Regions from separate parts of the Homo sapiens genome. Here region 2 is linked to region 1. Evidence: promoter capture Hi-C in 16 types of primary human blood cells and fetal thymus (Javierre and others, 2016). All regions are on one chromosome and are shown on one strand. The core of a region is centred on a gene start or on the middle of the fragment in contact, and the rest is flanking DNA. Distances in the headings are between cores, read along the strand shown. Region 1 holds the start of ACTR5 (actin related protein 5). Region 2 holds the start of CTNNBL1 (catenin beta like 1).

What was found. The method cuts DNA at HindIII sites, captures the fragments that hold promoters and counts their contacts. A CHiCAGO score of 5 or more calls a contact.
Region 2: a contact is called between the fragment with the promoter of CTNNBL1 here and the fragment with the promoter of ACTR5 in region 1, in 1 of 17 cell types (neutrophils). The highest score is 5.6, in neutrophils.

What each region holds. Positions count from the first base shown.
Region 1 is chr20:38,742,332-38,749,964 of GRCh38, reverse strand. It overlaps ACTR5 (actin related protein 5), which reads right to left and starts at 1,505. Exons shown (of 9, transcript NM_024855.4): 1 at 1,112-1,505. The coding sequence starts at 1,486. RefSeq lists silencers at 1,270-1,459, 1,760-2,029 and an enhancer at 1,408-1,909. The HindIII fragment of the contact is 9,906 bases long and covers 1-6,316 here.
Region 2 is chr20:37,689,628-37,697,260 of GRCh38, reverse strand. CTNNBL1 (catenin beta like 1) reads right to left here and starts at 3,231. Exons shown (of 16, transcript NM_030877.5): 1 at 3,109-3,231. The coding sequence starts at 3,138. LOC105372609 (a long non-coding RNA gene) reads left to right here and starts at 5,985. Exons shown (of 4, transcript XR_936703.1): 1 at 5,985-6,078; 2 at 6,311-6,398. RefSeq lists an enhancer at 2,894-2,953. The HindIII fragment of the contact is 18,373 bases long and covers 1-7,633 here.

The DNA of each region.
Region 1 (7,633 bases), core at 256-2,755:
TCTTTTTGAAGCATAAAAGAACCCAAAATCCTTATTGCAGGACTGAATTTGCTTTTGGCTTCTTAATCAAAAACCTGATCAGAGGCGATTATAAAACTCCCATCTCATCTTTACTTGAAAATACGAAAGTAGAGTCAATTTAAGTTATTAAGTCAAGGTCCCATCCAAACTGTCAGCAAATCGTGTTGGCTCTATCTTCAAAGTATTTCCAGAATCCAACTGCTTCTAATGACATTCCCTGCTATCTGCCTCATCTAAGCCACCATCATCCCTTACCTGGGTTATTCCAACAGCCTCCTAACTCGTCCCTGTTTCCACCCTATGATCCAAGACAATTCATTCTCCATACAGCAGTAATAGTGATCCTTTTAAAACACAAGTCAGGTCCTTCTTCAGCTCAACACCCTGCCATGGCTCCCCATTTCACTCAGTAAAAGCCTATAAGGTGTGTGATCTGCCTCTCCACTACCTCTCTGACATCCTCTTTCAGGTACTACTCTCCCCCTCACACAGGCAGCCTTGCAGTTAGGATTAGGGCACACTCCTGCCTCGGGGCCTTTTTACTGGCTGCTCCCTCTGCCTGGACCGTTTTTCCTTCAGATATTCACATGGCTTGCTACCTGAATCACCTCCTTCAAGTCCTTGCTCAAACATCACCTTCACGAGTCCTACCCTGACCATCTTACTGAAAAAATGTAACTCCCTCCTCTCCTATCACGGCGTAGAATCTACTATTTCTATGTTTACTGTCTGCCTTTTCATACTAGAATATCTTTCCATAGTATTAACAGCTCCATAAGCACAGGAAGTTTTGTGTTCACACATGTACTCCAAATGCCTAAAAAGTGCCTGACACAGAGTAAGTGCTCAATACGTATTTGTTAATAAATGGGCTTCTTAACAAACAAGCATATATGCCCAAAGGTATGCTCCAAGATACAAGGAGCAGCATTTTATTCGCTGCTACACCCACAGCGCCTAGCATCTGGTCGACTAAAAGACAATCGGAGCTACTGAAGTGACTGTTACCTCTCCGAGAGCAGAGTGAGCGGAGACGAGACCGCACCCCTCCCCTCAAACCCAGCCCAGCCCAGCCTACTCCGCCCTTCACCTGTGAGGAGACACCCAGGTGCTGGAAGCTGTAGTCCAGCAGCAACTCCTGAAGCTCCAGGTTGACCGGCACGTTGCGGTCGAAGGGCGAGCGCAGCATCCAGCGCAGTGGCTCCAGGCTGCCCAGAGCGTTCCCCACCTGCGGGCCCGACGCGCCCCGTGCCCCGCCACGACCGCGGGCGCACACCGCGCGGAACTGCAGGCGCGGCTCGGGACCTGGGTCCTGCCCGGGACACGCCCAGCCAGCGCGGACTTGGAACGACCCGTTGTCCAGCACCAGCGGTACCGGCAGTGGCCCGTGTGCCACCGGGCCGGCCTCCAGCACTGGGTCCGGTGCGGCACGGGCGTCGCGGAACGGGAACACGTTCGCCGCCATCTTGGAGCGCGCGTCCAGCCCCGCCCCTCGGCGCAGTGTCCGCCCAGACGCCGCGAAACCGCGCCCCCGACGTCACGCCGCGCGATTCAGGCCTTTAAGTACCTCGATGCCCCCTCCCTTCTCGAAGCCCGGCCAGCCTTTCCACTTGACTCGCCTCTGGCTGTCAAGGCTGCTTTCAGGATCGCTGAGACGTACCCATTCTGGCTGCGAAATTCTACGTTTCTTAACCTCTCCCCCAATAGCCTATGAGTGCCCACGCCCCTTCACTCTAGCCGGGACGCCCGGTTTGGAAGCCCCGCCCCAAAGCCTATCGCCGCCAGGCCCCGCCCCTTTCTGGCTGCCAGCTTCAGCGCCGCGCTCGGTGGAGCCCCGCCTCTCTGCCTGGCCACGCCCCATTGCCGGGCGCGCACCGTCGGCCGGGCGCGCACCGTCGGCCGGGCGCGCACCTTCGACCGCCGGCGGCCCCGCCTCCGCGTGGCTGTCTCGCCCTCAGTCTTGCGTCCTGGCTAGAAGGGTCCTTTATCTTTTGACGCTTCCTTTACGTTAAGAAATCTCAAACTCTGCCGACTGTTCAATTTCTTGACTAGGGAGCTGACTACTCAGTTCTGTTCACTTTACTAACTCGCACAGACTGTGTCTTCTCACTAAGACACAGTGTTTTCTCAAACCCTGAGAAAAGACTGCTGATTGTTCCCCAAGCATTCCCTCTCTTTTAGTGGCATCACCTCCCACTCCCACGTGGCCATCCGTCTGGCTGCGATCTAGATGCGCTCATGTGACTAAATTCTGGCCAGGAGCGGGTGGGAGAGGAGGCCATGTGTGTGACCCACTCAGTTTTAGCCCTAAAAGCACTCGTCGCGCTCTATCCTGTCGCATTTCCATCTTTTCACTAGCTAAGGGGGTAAGAATTAGAGCAGTTGTTTTACTACAACCTTTTTTTGTGCAGTGGGGCGATCTCGGCTCACTGCAGCCTCGACTTCCTGGACTCAAGTGATTCTCCCGCCTCAGCCTCCTAAGTAGCTGAGATTACAGGCGTGCACCACCACGCCCAGCTAATTTTTATATTTTTAGTAGAGAAGGGATTTCACTATGTTGCCCATGCTGGCCATAACCATTTTGAAAGAAGAAAAAGAATAGAGCAGCTGCCTTGAATCTACTCTACCAGGTCTATAACACTTCAGTTTGAGAGATAAAATCAAATTAGTTACAAAAGATATTGTAAGCGAGAAATGAAACTCCTAACTTATCTCAAGAACCTCTATTAACAGTGTTTGTTGTTGTTGTTGTTTGTTTTTTTTAAGACGGAGTCTGGCTCTGTCACCCAGGCTGGAGTGCAGTGGTGTGATCTTGGCTCACTGCAACCTCCACATCCCCGGTTCAAGCAATTCACCTGCCTCAGCCTCCCGAGTAGCTGGGATTACAGGCATGCTCCACAACACCCAGCTAATTTTTTTTATTTTTAATACAGACGGGATTTCGCCACGTTGGCCAGGCTGGTCTCGAACTCCTTGGCTCAAGTGATCCGCCTGCCTCGGCCTCCCAAAGTGCTGGGATTACAGGCTTGAGACGACGGGCCCAGCCTGTTAACACACCTAAACCAGATTGGGAGCCAGCCCAGTGGCAAAAATCAGGTTGTGTTGTCTTTCAACACACGTCCATTGTTCAGATATCTGAAGTAACCATCGTTAAGTTAATTAAGAGGGGGACCAGCAGAACACAGAAACCAGTAAATGTAAGTTAGTGAATGTTAATTTAAGAATTGTGTCTATGTATATTAATATGAAAAAGCACTGGCTGGGCGCAGTGGCTCACACCTGTAATCCCAGCACTTTGGGAGGCCGAGGCTGGTGGATCGCCTGAGGTCGGGAGTTCGAGACCAGCCTGGCCAACATGGTGAAACCCCGTCTCTAGTAAAAATACAAAAATTAGCTGGGCATGGTGGCAGGTGTCTGTAATCCCAGCTACTTGGGAGGCTGAGGCAAGAGAATCGCTTGAACCCTGGAGGCGGAGGTTGCAGTGAGCCGAGATCACGCCAGTGCACTCCAGCCTGAGCAACAAGAGTGAAACTTTGTCTCACAAAAAAGAAAAAAAGAAAAGCACCAAGGTAAATATATATATTATATATATTATTATTTTATATATATATGAGAGGCAACTCCAACGGGGATGGCCAGTGTGGTGGCTCATGCCTGTAATCCCAGCACTTTGGGAGGCTGAGGTGGGAGGACTGCTTTAGCCCAGAAGTTCAAGACCAGCCTCAACCTCACTAGTAGTTGGGACTACAAGTGCACACCACCACATAGAGACAGAGTTTTGCCATGTTGCCCAGGCTGGTCTTTATAAGCGTTTGGCACATGAGGTAGATTGGATTATTATTCCCAGTTCTTCATTCCTTTACTTTTTTTTTCTTCACTCCTTTATAGTAGGATGATACATCCATACCATTTGCCTTGTAACTTTGTAGAGCCTCTCCTTGAGGACACTGATATTAGGCTTGGTCATGTGACTTGCTTTAGCCAATGGACTGTTAACTGAATATGATTGGTTTAGATTGCCTTCTTGCACTCCTGCTTTTAGTCATGAGAGGAACATACCTGAGTCCAAAGAGGATAAGAGATACATGGAGCAGATCTGAACCTAAACTGCAGTCCGAAGCCAAGTCCAGCCAACCTGCAACCTAAAGTTGAGCTGCCCCATGGACCTCTGAACAAGAAAAATGTTTATTCTTATAAACCACTGAAATTCTGGAGTTGCTATGCAGTATTATTGCAGGAGAAAACCGACTAATACACTAGACCAATGCTGTCCAACAGAACTTTGTACATTGGAAATGTGCAAATTGATGGAGATGATCTAGTATCTGTTGTGTCTAACACAGTGGCCAGTAACCACATGTGGCCGCAGAGCACTTGAAATGTGAATAGTGTAACTGAAGAACTGAATTTTTAAAATGTTCTTAATTTTAATTTTTCTTTCTTTCTTTCTTTTTTTTTTTTTTTTGATGGAGTTTCGCTCTTGTCACCCAGGCTGGAGTGAAGTGGCACAATCTCGGCTCACTGTAACCTCTGCCTCCCAGGTTCAAGCGATTCTCCTGCCTCAGCCTCCCGAGTAGCTGGGATTACAGGCATGCACCACCACACCCCGGTAATTTTTGTATTTTCATTAGAGACAGGGTTGCACCATGTTGGCCAGGCTGGTTGTGAATTCCTCACCTCAAGTGATCTGCCCACCTCGGCCTCCTAAAATGCTGGGATTACAGGTGTGAGCCATTGCACCCAGCCTTAATTTTAGTTTAAATTTAAATAGTCATGTAGCTAGTGGCTACTCTATTGCACACTGTAGCACTAGACAAAATCTAGGGCTGTAAAGATTTACCCATGGAAATGACTAGAAAAAAATACATTAGGCTGGGTGCAGCGGTTCACGCCTGTAATCCCAGCACTTTAGGAGGCCGTGGGGCAGATCACTTGAGGTCAGGAGTTCGAGACCAGCCTGGCCAACATGGAGAAAGCCTGTCTTTACTAAAAATACAAAAAATTAGCTGGGCATGGTGGTGCACACCTTTAGTCGCAGCTACTCAGGAGGCTGAGGCACAAGAATCACTTGAACCTGGAAGGTGGAGGTTGCAGTGAGCTGAGATTGTGCCACTGCACTCCAGCCTGGGCAACAGAGCAAGACTCTGTCTCAAAAAAAATGCTTTAGAAGCCTACTGTATTATTTTCCTAGCTGCTGTAACATAGTACCACAAAGTAGGATGACTTGAAACAAGAGAAATTTATTTTCTTACACTTCTGGAGGCAGAAGGCTAAAATTAAGGTGTCGGCATGGCCATGCTCTTCTTGAAGGCTCCAGGGTAGTATTTGTTCCACAGCTTTCTCTTAGCTTCCTGGTGCTGTCAGCTATGATGGTTGGTTTTATGTCAGCCTTTCTGGCTGCCCAGATATTTGGTCAAACATTTTTCTGGGTGTTTTCTATGGAGTGCTTTAGGATGAGATGAACATTTCAATCAGTAGACTGAGTAAAGCAGATTTCCCTTCCTAATGTGAGTGGGCCTCATCCAATCAGTTCAATAGAACAAAGAGGCTGACTCTCCCTGCCTGAATGGCTTTGGACTGGGACATCAGCTTTTTTCCTTTTTTTTTTTTTTTTTTTTTTTGAGACAGAGCTTCACTCTTGTTGCCCAGGCTGAAGTGCAATGACACGATCTCGGCTCACCGAAACCTCTACCTCCCAGGTTCAAGCAATTCTCCTGCCTCACCCTCCTGAGTAGCTGGGATTACAGGCATGTGCCACCATGCCCTGCTAATTTTGCATTTTTAGTAGAGACAGGGTTTCTCCATGTTGGTCAGACTAGTCTTGAACTCCCGACCTCAGGTGATCCACCCGCCTTGGCCTCCCAAAGTGCTGGAATTACAGGCATGAGCCGCCGCCCAGCCTTTCCTGCCTTTAGACTTGAACTGAAACATAGACTCTTCCTTGGTCTCAAGACTGCTGACCTTCAGACTGGAACTACACTACTAAGGCCAGTTCTCAGGCCTTCGGACTTGGACTCTGATATGGTTTGGCTCTGTGTCACCACGGAGATCTCGTGTTGAATTATAATTCCCAGCGTTGGAGGTGGGGCCTGCTGGGAGGTGATTGGATCATAGGGTGGTTCTAATGGTTTAGCACCATGGACCTGGCTGGTCTTGTGGTAGAGTTCTCACAAGATCTGGTTGTTTCTCCCTTCGCTTGCTCTCTCCTGCTCCACCATGTGAAGATAGTACTTGCTTCCCCTTTGCCTTCCACCATGATTGTTAAGTTTCCTGAGGCCTCCCCAGAAGTGAAGCTTGTATAACCCGCAGAACCATGAGCCAATTAAATCTCTTTTCTTTGGAAGTTACACAGTCTCAGGAACTTCTTTATAGCAGGGCGAGAACGGACTAATACAGACTCAGACTAGAACTAAACCATTGGCTCTCCTGGGCCTCCAGCTTTCCAACTCACCCTGAAGATCTTAGAACTTGCTTACCTCTGTAACTGAGTAACCCAATTCCATGTAGTGTGTGTAAGTATGTATACATATATAATATTAGTTCTCTTTCTCTGGGGAATCCTGACGAACACACCTGCAATCCTCAGTGACGAACACACCTGCAATCCTCAGCATTGCTTGGCCTCTCCAGTCTCTGCTGCCGTCATCATGTGGTGCTCCCCTTGAGTGTATCTGTCTCTTTTCCTCTTCTTTTTATTTTTTAATTTTTTTTTTTTTTTGAGATAGAGTCTCGCTCTGTTGCCCAGGCTGGAGTGCAGTGGTGCCATCTTGGCTCACTGCAACCTCTGCCTCCCAAGTAGCTGGGATTACAATCATGCGCCACCACGCCCAGCTAATTTTTTGCATTTTTAGTAGAGACAGGGTTTCACCATATTGGCCAGGCGGGTCTCGAACTCCTGACCTTGTGATCCACCTGCCTCGACCTCCTACAGTTTTGGGATTACAGGTGTGAGCCACCACGCCCAGCCCACTTTTCCTCTTCTTCTAAGAGCACCAGTCTTATTGGATTAGGGCCCCACCCTACTTCAGTATGAGCTTCACTGATTATATCTGTACTATGTACCTGCAACAACTATATTTCTAAATGAGGGCACATTCACGGATGTAGTGAATCAGAACCCACATTAAATACACCTTCTATTTGGTTTAAGTTATGGCCATGTTGGCTCCTGTCCTAAGTAACACACACACACACACAGGTGATCATATGATGTATCTAGTCTTGTTCCTTAGAGAGCCTTCATGACAGGACTCAGACGGTAGAACTATCAGAAAACTGTTCCAAGGAAACCATGTGCCATGCATTCTGCCTGCAGCTTGGTGGGGAGGATGTGATGAGAACAGGTATCAAATTAGGCTGTTGAACCTTAATTCATCATGGCTGACCAAGGCCTTGTGCTGGACTTGGTTCAGGGCTCGTTGGGCCAACTGCCTGGGAAACAGAAAGGATATCCACGTAACTGAGGAGACAGGTGGCAGACTAGGACTGGGGGCAGGTGATTTAGCACAGGGTCTCCAACTTCATCCCAGATCCTGCTAACCCACTGGTTGGAATAATCAGATATAGGGCATGCTGTGGCCTTTTAGTAGCCTGTACCTTTGCACATATGTAT
Region 2 (7,633 bases), core at 1,982-4,481, 1.1 Mb after region 1:
TGTTGTCCAATAAAAATACAACAAAAGCCACAAACAAAACACCTAACTTTACATTTTCTTTCTTTTTTTTTTTCTTTGAGAGAGAGTTTCGCTCTTGTTGCCCAGGCTGGAGTGCAATGGGATGATCTCAGCTCACTGCAACCTCTACCTCCCAGGTTCAAGCAATTCTCCTGCCTCAGCCTCCCAAGTAGCTGGGATTACAGGCATGCACCACCACGCCCGGCTAATTTTTTATATTTTTAGTAGAGACATGGTTTCTTCATGTTGGTCAGGCTGGTCTCAAACTCCCAACCTCAGGTGACCCACCCGCCTCAGCCTTCCAAAGTGCTGGGATTACAGGCATGAGCTACCACACCCGGCCCACTTTACATTTTCTAGTAGCCACATTTTAAAAGTTTTTTAAAAAGCAACATTAATTTTAATAATATATTTTCTTTAATCCAATATATCGTAAGTGTTATCATTTATTCAACATGTAATCAGCATAAAAGTTAAGGTACTGTACATTATTTTCACGTGGCCAGGGGCAGTGGCTCACGCCTGTAATCACAGCACTTTGGGAGGCCAAGGCTGGCAGATCACCTGAGGTTGGGAGTCAAGACCAGCCTGACCAACATGGAGAAACCCCATCTCTACTAAAAATACAAAAATTAGCCAGGCGTGGTGGCGCATGCCCGTAATCCCAGCTACTCAGGAGGCTGAGGCAGGAGAATCGCTTGAACCCAAGAGGCAGAGGTTGCAGTCAGCTGAGATCTCACCATTGCACTCCAGCCTGGGCAACAAGAGTGAAACTCCATCTCAAAAAAAAAAAAAAAAAAAAAAAAAGATATTGTACATTATTTTCATACTAAATCTTTGAAATCCAGTGTGTATTTTGCACATGTAGCAGATCTAAATTCGAAACTAGTCACATTTTAAGTATTCAATAATCACATGTGCCTAGTGGCTACTATACAAAGCAGTGCAATTTTATAGCATACTCTGCTATATTCCCTTCCCAGCACTTACCACAAACTGAATGCATTGTTTACTTATTATCTTGTAACTTCCCACCAGATGCTCCACAAAAGCAAGAATCTTGTCTTTTATTCAGTGTTGTATACCCAGTGGATAGACTGCCTTGCACACAGTAGGTGTTCAATATATATTTGTTGAGCAAATGAATGAAACTCTTCTAGCTTTAATGGGCTAGCCATTCTAGAAATTCCAAGCCGGCATACAATCACTGATTTAATAACTTGCCTATTTCCCTTCATCTTTCACTATCAATTAAACTGTCTTTAAAAGAAAAATCTCTTGGCTATATAGCTCCCCATTGCTGAACTGTTCTTTCCCATGATGTCTTAAGCGTCCAGGGTCAATTTCTTGTACTTTGGCTGAGGGAGTGGTATGAAAATAACTGCTAATATTTACTGAATGTTTACTCTTTGGCAAGCATTGTCTAAGGACTTTCCATTTCTCAACAGCTTCACAACAGCCCTGTGAGGCAGCTACCGTCACTGTCCCCCATTTACAGATGAAGAAACCAAGGCAGAGAGAAATTAAGTATTTTGTTCAAGGTTACAGCAGCCAGTTAGTAGCAAAACAGAGACTGCCAGCAACCTAGGGGTCCAGACTCATGGCTCTTAATCACCTATTCTTGACTGCAGGGCTGTCTAACAAAAATATAAGCTGAACTATATATGTTGTTTTAAATTTTCTAGTAAACACATTAAAATGTCAAGAGGGGCAGTTAAAATTGGTTTTAAACATATTTTATTGGCTGAGTGTGGTGTGTGGTGGCTCATACCTGTAATCCCAGCACTTTGGGAGGCCAAGTGGGAAGACTGCTTGAGGCTAGGAGTTTGAGACCATCTTGGGCAACATAGCAAGACCCTGTCTCTACAAAAAATTTAAAAATCAGCCAAGCATAGTGATGCCTGCCTGCAGTCCTAGCTACTTGGGAGGATACCTTAGACCTAGGAGTTTAAGGCTACTGTGAGCAATGATTGTGCCACTGCACTCCAGCATGGGCGACAGAGCAAGATCCTGTCTCTAAATAACAATAAAATAAAATTTTAAAAATTAATTAAGTATATTTTATTTCACCCATTATCCAAAATATGATCATTTAATCAATATGACCAATAACCAATGTAATTGATATAATCAGTACGATCATGTAATCAATATAAAAATTTCACTTTTTCCATACTAGTCTCCAACCCAAATGTGTCTTTATACTTACAGTATTTCTCAATTCAGACTAGTCACATTTCAAGCAATCAACAGCCTATGTGGCTAGTGGCTACGACATTCGGCAGTGCAGCTCTACTGCTCCTCGCAATGACCCTCCTATGGAATCAAAGTGGGGGAAAAACTTTGGGGTGGAAGTCAGTACGCCTGAGCTCAAATTCCAGCTCCTTGTTTCTGAGTGACTTTGGACAAGCCCTTTCTGCTCTCTAGGTCCCATACAGTTTCCCCACAAGTTTCCTAGGCAAGGGGGACCCTGAGCAAGATTCCTAGAAACTCATTCCATGCTAGAATTCCCAACATCTCCTGCAAATCGCAGTAAACACAAGCACAGCTTTCCACACTTTAAAACCAGCTTTCATACATATCAGTTGGTACAGTCCTCAAACAACCCTACTAAGGCAGTTATTAGTGTCTCCACTATATAGATACAAAAACTTGGTTCAAAGAGGGGGGGAATGACTTGTCCAAAAGCCACATAGCCAGTCAGTGGAGAAGCTGGAGATCAAATCCAAGTGAGACCAGTGCACTCCCACCGCCGCCACCACCATCACCTCAATGACTGGGGGGACATGAGAGCTGAGAGGACATGGTTGTGAAAAAAAGGATAGTCTGGGGTTTCAGAGGAGTTTCAGGGAACCAGGCCCCAGGGTGAGGAAGAGGAGGTGAAGGGCTCAGGTCTTGAGAAGGGATGAATCGAAAGGGCCCAGGAGGGCTTCGGAGAGCAAAGTAAAACGAGGGGCTGAGACCCCGGGTGGCATGAGAAGTTAGAGGGCCCGGGAGTGAGGCGAGAGGAGGTGAGATGAAAGGGCTCTGGCTCCTGCGACCCCTGCCCAGGTGAGAACGCGGTCGCTCGGCCCTCCCTGCCCCTCATACCTGGTAGCTCAGAAGTTCGCCCACGTCCATGGTACCCGGCCCAGCAAATACTCCACTTCCCTGCACTCACGCCCAGACCGCGGGCCCGTCAGCCGCGGCTCCAGCCACACTGCCGTAAAGTGCGGCGAGCGGAGCCGCAGAGCCAATAGGGCAAAAGTGCGAGCGACAAGCGAGCCGGCCACACCGCGGTAAAAGGACGCGCCGCCGTAAAGCGCGCTGCATTTGGAACAGGGTTGCTTCCGCCTGGAGCCTGAGGGGGCGGGGAAAGGGGGCGGAGACTTAGAGGAGGGGCGGGAGGGGAGAGCAGGGACCAGAAGAAACCAAACTTGATTGCGCGTCCCTAGTGTCCAGGGCGGAGTGCCGGGTGTTTCGTGTGCGCTCTCACGAGCTTCCAGTGATTTATCCTCATTTCACAGAAAAGGAAACTGACGCTCCCAACTGCACCATCCAATACTTTACTCACTAGCCACATATGGCTACCGAGCGCTTGAGATATGGCTACTCCGAAGTGAGATGTGCCATAAGTGTAAATAAAATACACACCAGATTTCTAAGACTTACATTGATTACAGGTTGAAATGATATTTTGGATATACTGGGTCAAATTCATATATTATAAAATGAATTTTACCTGTTTCTCTTTACTTCTTAAATGTGGTTAGTAGAAAGTTTTAAATTACACATGTGGCTCTCATTTGTGGTTCCCATTAATTTCTATCAGATAGTGCTGGCTCAAAAAGTGACTTGTTCCAAGGCTGTACAACTATTACTGGCTGAGAAACTATTGGTGATCACATGTCCCTCTCTAGGCTTGTGTCTGCTCATCTATGCGAAGTCTAACGGTCACTAGATGATCCCCTTGCTACCCAGGTGATATAAAAAGGTTTCTGGAGGAGAAAGTTGCCCATAATTGGAAGAGAATCATTCAGAGTGCATCTGATCTTAAACAAGATCAGAATGCACCTGGGACTTAAGGCTCCATCTTCAAAGGAAATTAAACCTCCTTCCATAAGCCCCTGTCCTTTATATTTATAATTATATTTATGTATTATATTATATTTATATGCCCTTCATATTTATAATTTTGGTCCCCATCCCATCTGCACTGGCTCCAATTATACAGAAATTATTCTTATTCCTCAGAATGACAAATCCTCTCCCCTTCTGCCTGGCCATCAGCACCATACCTCATCCAATTCTCTCATCTTTCGGGTCTCAAATGTCACTTTCTTACAAGGGCTTCTTCAACTCACCCTGGTCCAGGTAATCAACCTCTCTCCTCATTATTCTTTTTCCAAGTACCTGCTCCACTACGTATATATCTCATTCTGTAATTTTGTGCTTAATGGTTGACTATTTGTTTCTTGACAGCCTCATTTACTGGATTGCAAGCTCTATGCAAGCAGGACATGTGTGTGTCATGTTCACCACTGTATCCCCCAAGCCTAGTACAGTGCCTGGTAGAGGGAGAGGTTTCATAATGGGCCTTGTGTGCCATGGTAAAGAGATTAGATTTTGGCTAGGCGTGGCCGGGCGTGGTGGCTCACGCCTGTAAGCTCAGCACTTTAGGAGGCCAAGGCGGGCAGATCACTTGAAGTCAGGAGTTTGAGACCAGCCTGACCACCATGGTGAAACCTCGTCTCTACTAAAAATTACAAAAATTAGCTGGGCATGGTGGCACATGCCTCTACTTGGGAGGCTGAAGCAGGAGAATCGCTTGAACCCAGGAGGCAGAGGCTGTAGTGAGCTGAGATTCCACCACTGCACTCCAGCCTGGGTGACAGAGCAAGACTCTGTCTCAAAAAAAAAAAAAAAAAAAAGAGAGAGAGATTGGATTTTATGCTAACGGCATAAGGAAAGTTTTAAGCAAGGTAGTTTTGTGACTGGGCTTATGTTTTTAAAGGATCACCTATGCAATCTGCATTGAATTCAGTCTATTTGGGTGTCTTTCCCCCTCCTACTTATATAAGAATATGGACTGTGCCCGGCCGGGTGTGGTAGCTCACGCCTGTAATCCCAGCACTTTGGGAGGCCGAGGAGGGCAGATCACGAGGTCAGGAGATTGAGATCTTCCTGGCCCACATGGTGAAAACCCATCTCTACTAAAATACAAAAAATTAGCCAGGTGTGGTGGCACGTGCCTGTAGTCCCAGCTACTTGGGAGGCTGAGGCAGGGGAATCGCTTGAACCAGGGAGGTGGAGATTGTAGTGAGCCAAGATGGCACCACTGCACTCCAGCCTGGCGACAGAGCAAGACTACGTCTCAAAAAAAAAAAAAAAAAATAGAATATAGACTGTGCCTTGTTTGGGAAGACAGGAGAGAGTAATGGTGAGGGTGTACCCTTTGGACCCAGACCCCTGTGTTCTAGTTCATGGTATGTTGATGCCAGCTTGCACAGACAGGTCTACAAAAGCCCATGGTTAAATTTGTAGGAAACTTGCAAGCTGATTGACACCAGGTTGATAGCTTGAAATCAGCCATGCTAGGAGTATTTGTACAATGTAAATCAGCAAATGCTACAAATCAGGGTTGTTAATGTTGTTGTTTTTCCAGAGAGCTACTTGTAGGGTTTTTTTGTTTCTTTGTTTGCTTTTGAGACAAGCTCGGGCTCTATCACCCAGGCTGGAGTGCAGTGGCGGGATCTCAGCTCACTGCAACCTCCCCCTCCCGGGCTGAAGCCCACCTCAGCCTCCCAAATAGCTAGGACTACAGGCGTGCGCCACCATGCCTGGCTTATTTTGTTGTTGTTGTTGTTGTTGCTGTTGTTGTAGAAATAGAGTTTCACCATGCTGCCCAGGCTGGTCTCAAACTCATGAGCTCAAGCAATCCCCCCGCCTTGGCCTCACAAAGTGCTGGGATTACAGGCATGAGCCACTGCACCCAGCCGAGCCAGTTGTTAAACATCTACCCAACACACCCTGATTCTGGTTCTAGTGGAAGTTCCACCATATCTAGCCATGGGTCCTTGGGTAAGTTACTTTCTCTGTCCCTAAATTACACTTTCCTTATCTGTAACATGACTCATTCATTCATTCATTCATTCAACAAGTATTTACTGAGAGCCTACTCAATGCTAGGCACAATTCTGGGCTCTGAGGATATGGAAGTTTATAAAACAAAGCTCCTGCCTTCTGGAAACCTACATTCTAGTTTGGGTGAAAACCTCATGGAGAAAATGTTGATATGAGTCTTATTTTACAGATGTGGAAACAGTGGCAATGAACTTCACCTCTACATGCCTGATTTTCTCACCTGCAAAGTGGAGATTCAACCAAATCTACCTCATAAGGTTATGGAGGGTTTACATGAAATGCTGTATGCAAAGCACTTGGCACAGTGCCTGGCACAGAAAAGTGCTGTGTGTCTTATATTAATATTGTAAGGAGTTGGCAGCTGGGCACGGTGGCTCATGTCTGTAATCCCAGAGCTTTGGGAGACCAAGGCGGATCCCTTGAGCCCAGGAGTTCGAGACCAGCCTGGGCAACATAGTGAGACCCTGTCTCTACAAAAAAATAGAAAAAAAATTTAGCCAGATGTGGTGGCACGTGCCTGTAGTCTCGGCTACTCAGGAGGCTGAGGCTGGAGAATCACTTGAGCCCAGGAGGCAGAGGTTGCAGTGAGCCAGGATTGTGCCACTGCATCCTGGGTGACAGAGCAAGACCTTGTCTCTCAAAAAAAAAAAAAAAAAAAAGAAAGAAAAAGGAGTTGAGTGGGATAGGGGCAAGGGAGAGGGCAGGAAGAATGAGAGAATTCCTTATAACCTTTCCTTTTTAGGCAATCAGTCTTGTCTGTTTTTGTAGAGACCAGTTCTAAAACACAGAATTATAAGGCAAAATCCTATAAGAACCAGGTTTGGTGAGCACCCTGAACTGGGGCTAATGTGCTCTGCTAGAGGTTTCCCTGAGAACGTAACATCTGGACAGGGGTTTAAAGGGAAAGAAGAGTTTACCAAGAAGATACAGTGGGAGAATGGTGACCCAGGCAGAGGGAACAGCATGAGCAAAGACAAGGCAATTGGACCCTTCCTTGTGGACAGAGCTTCAAATGTGTGGAAGAAAAGGTGGAGAGGCTGGCTGGAGAAGATCACGAAGAGGGTTAACAGATTTAGCAAATAAAAATACAGGACACCCAGTTAAATCTGAATTTCAGACAAATAATGAATTTTTTATAAATTTGTCTCATGCAATATTTAATAACATACTAAAAATGTTTTCTGTCTGAAATTCAGAATTAAATGGGCATTATTTATTTTATCTGGCAACCCTAATCTTGGAGAAACTTGAATGCCAGATTAAGATATTTTCATTTTATCTTGATGAGAGGGTCCATTAATAATTCTTTGGGAACCCCCAGGAATGAGACTTGGGGCGCTCACCCTTCAGGTCTCAGCTTAATTGCACACATCAGAGGAATCTTTCCTGACCACAAGATTTAAGACAGTTCCTCCCCTTCAAGATTCTCTATCAGCATTCCTGACCATTATTATCTTCAGAACACTTATTGTTTTTGTTTTTATATTTGTTT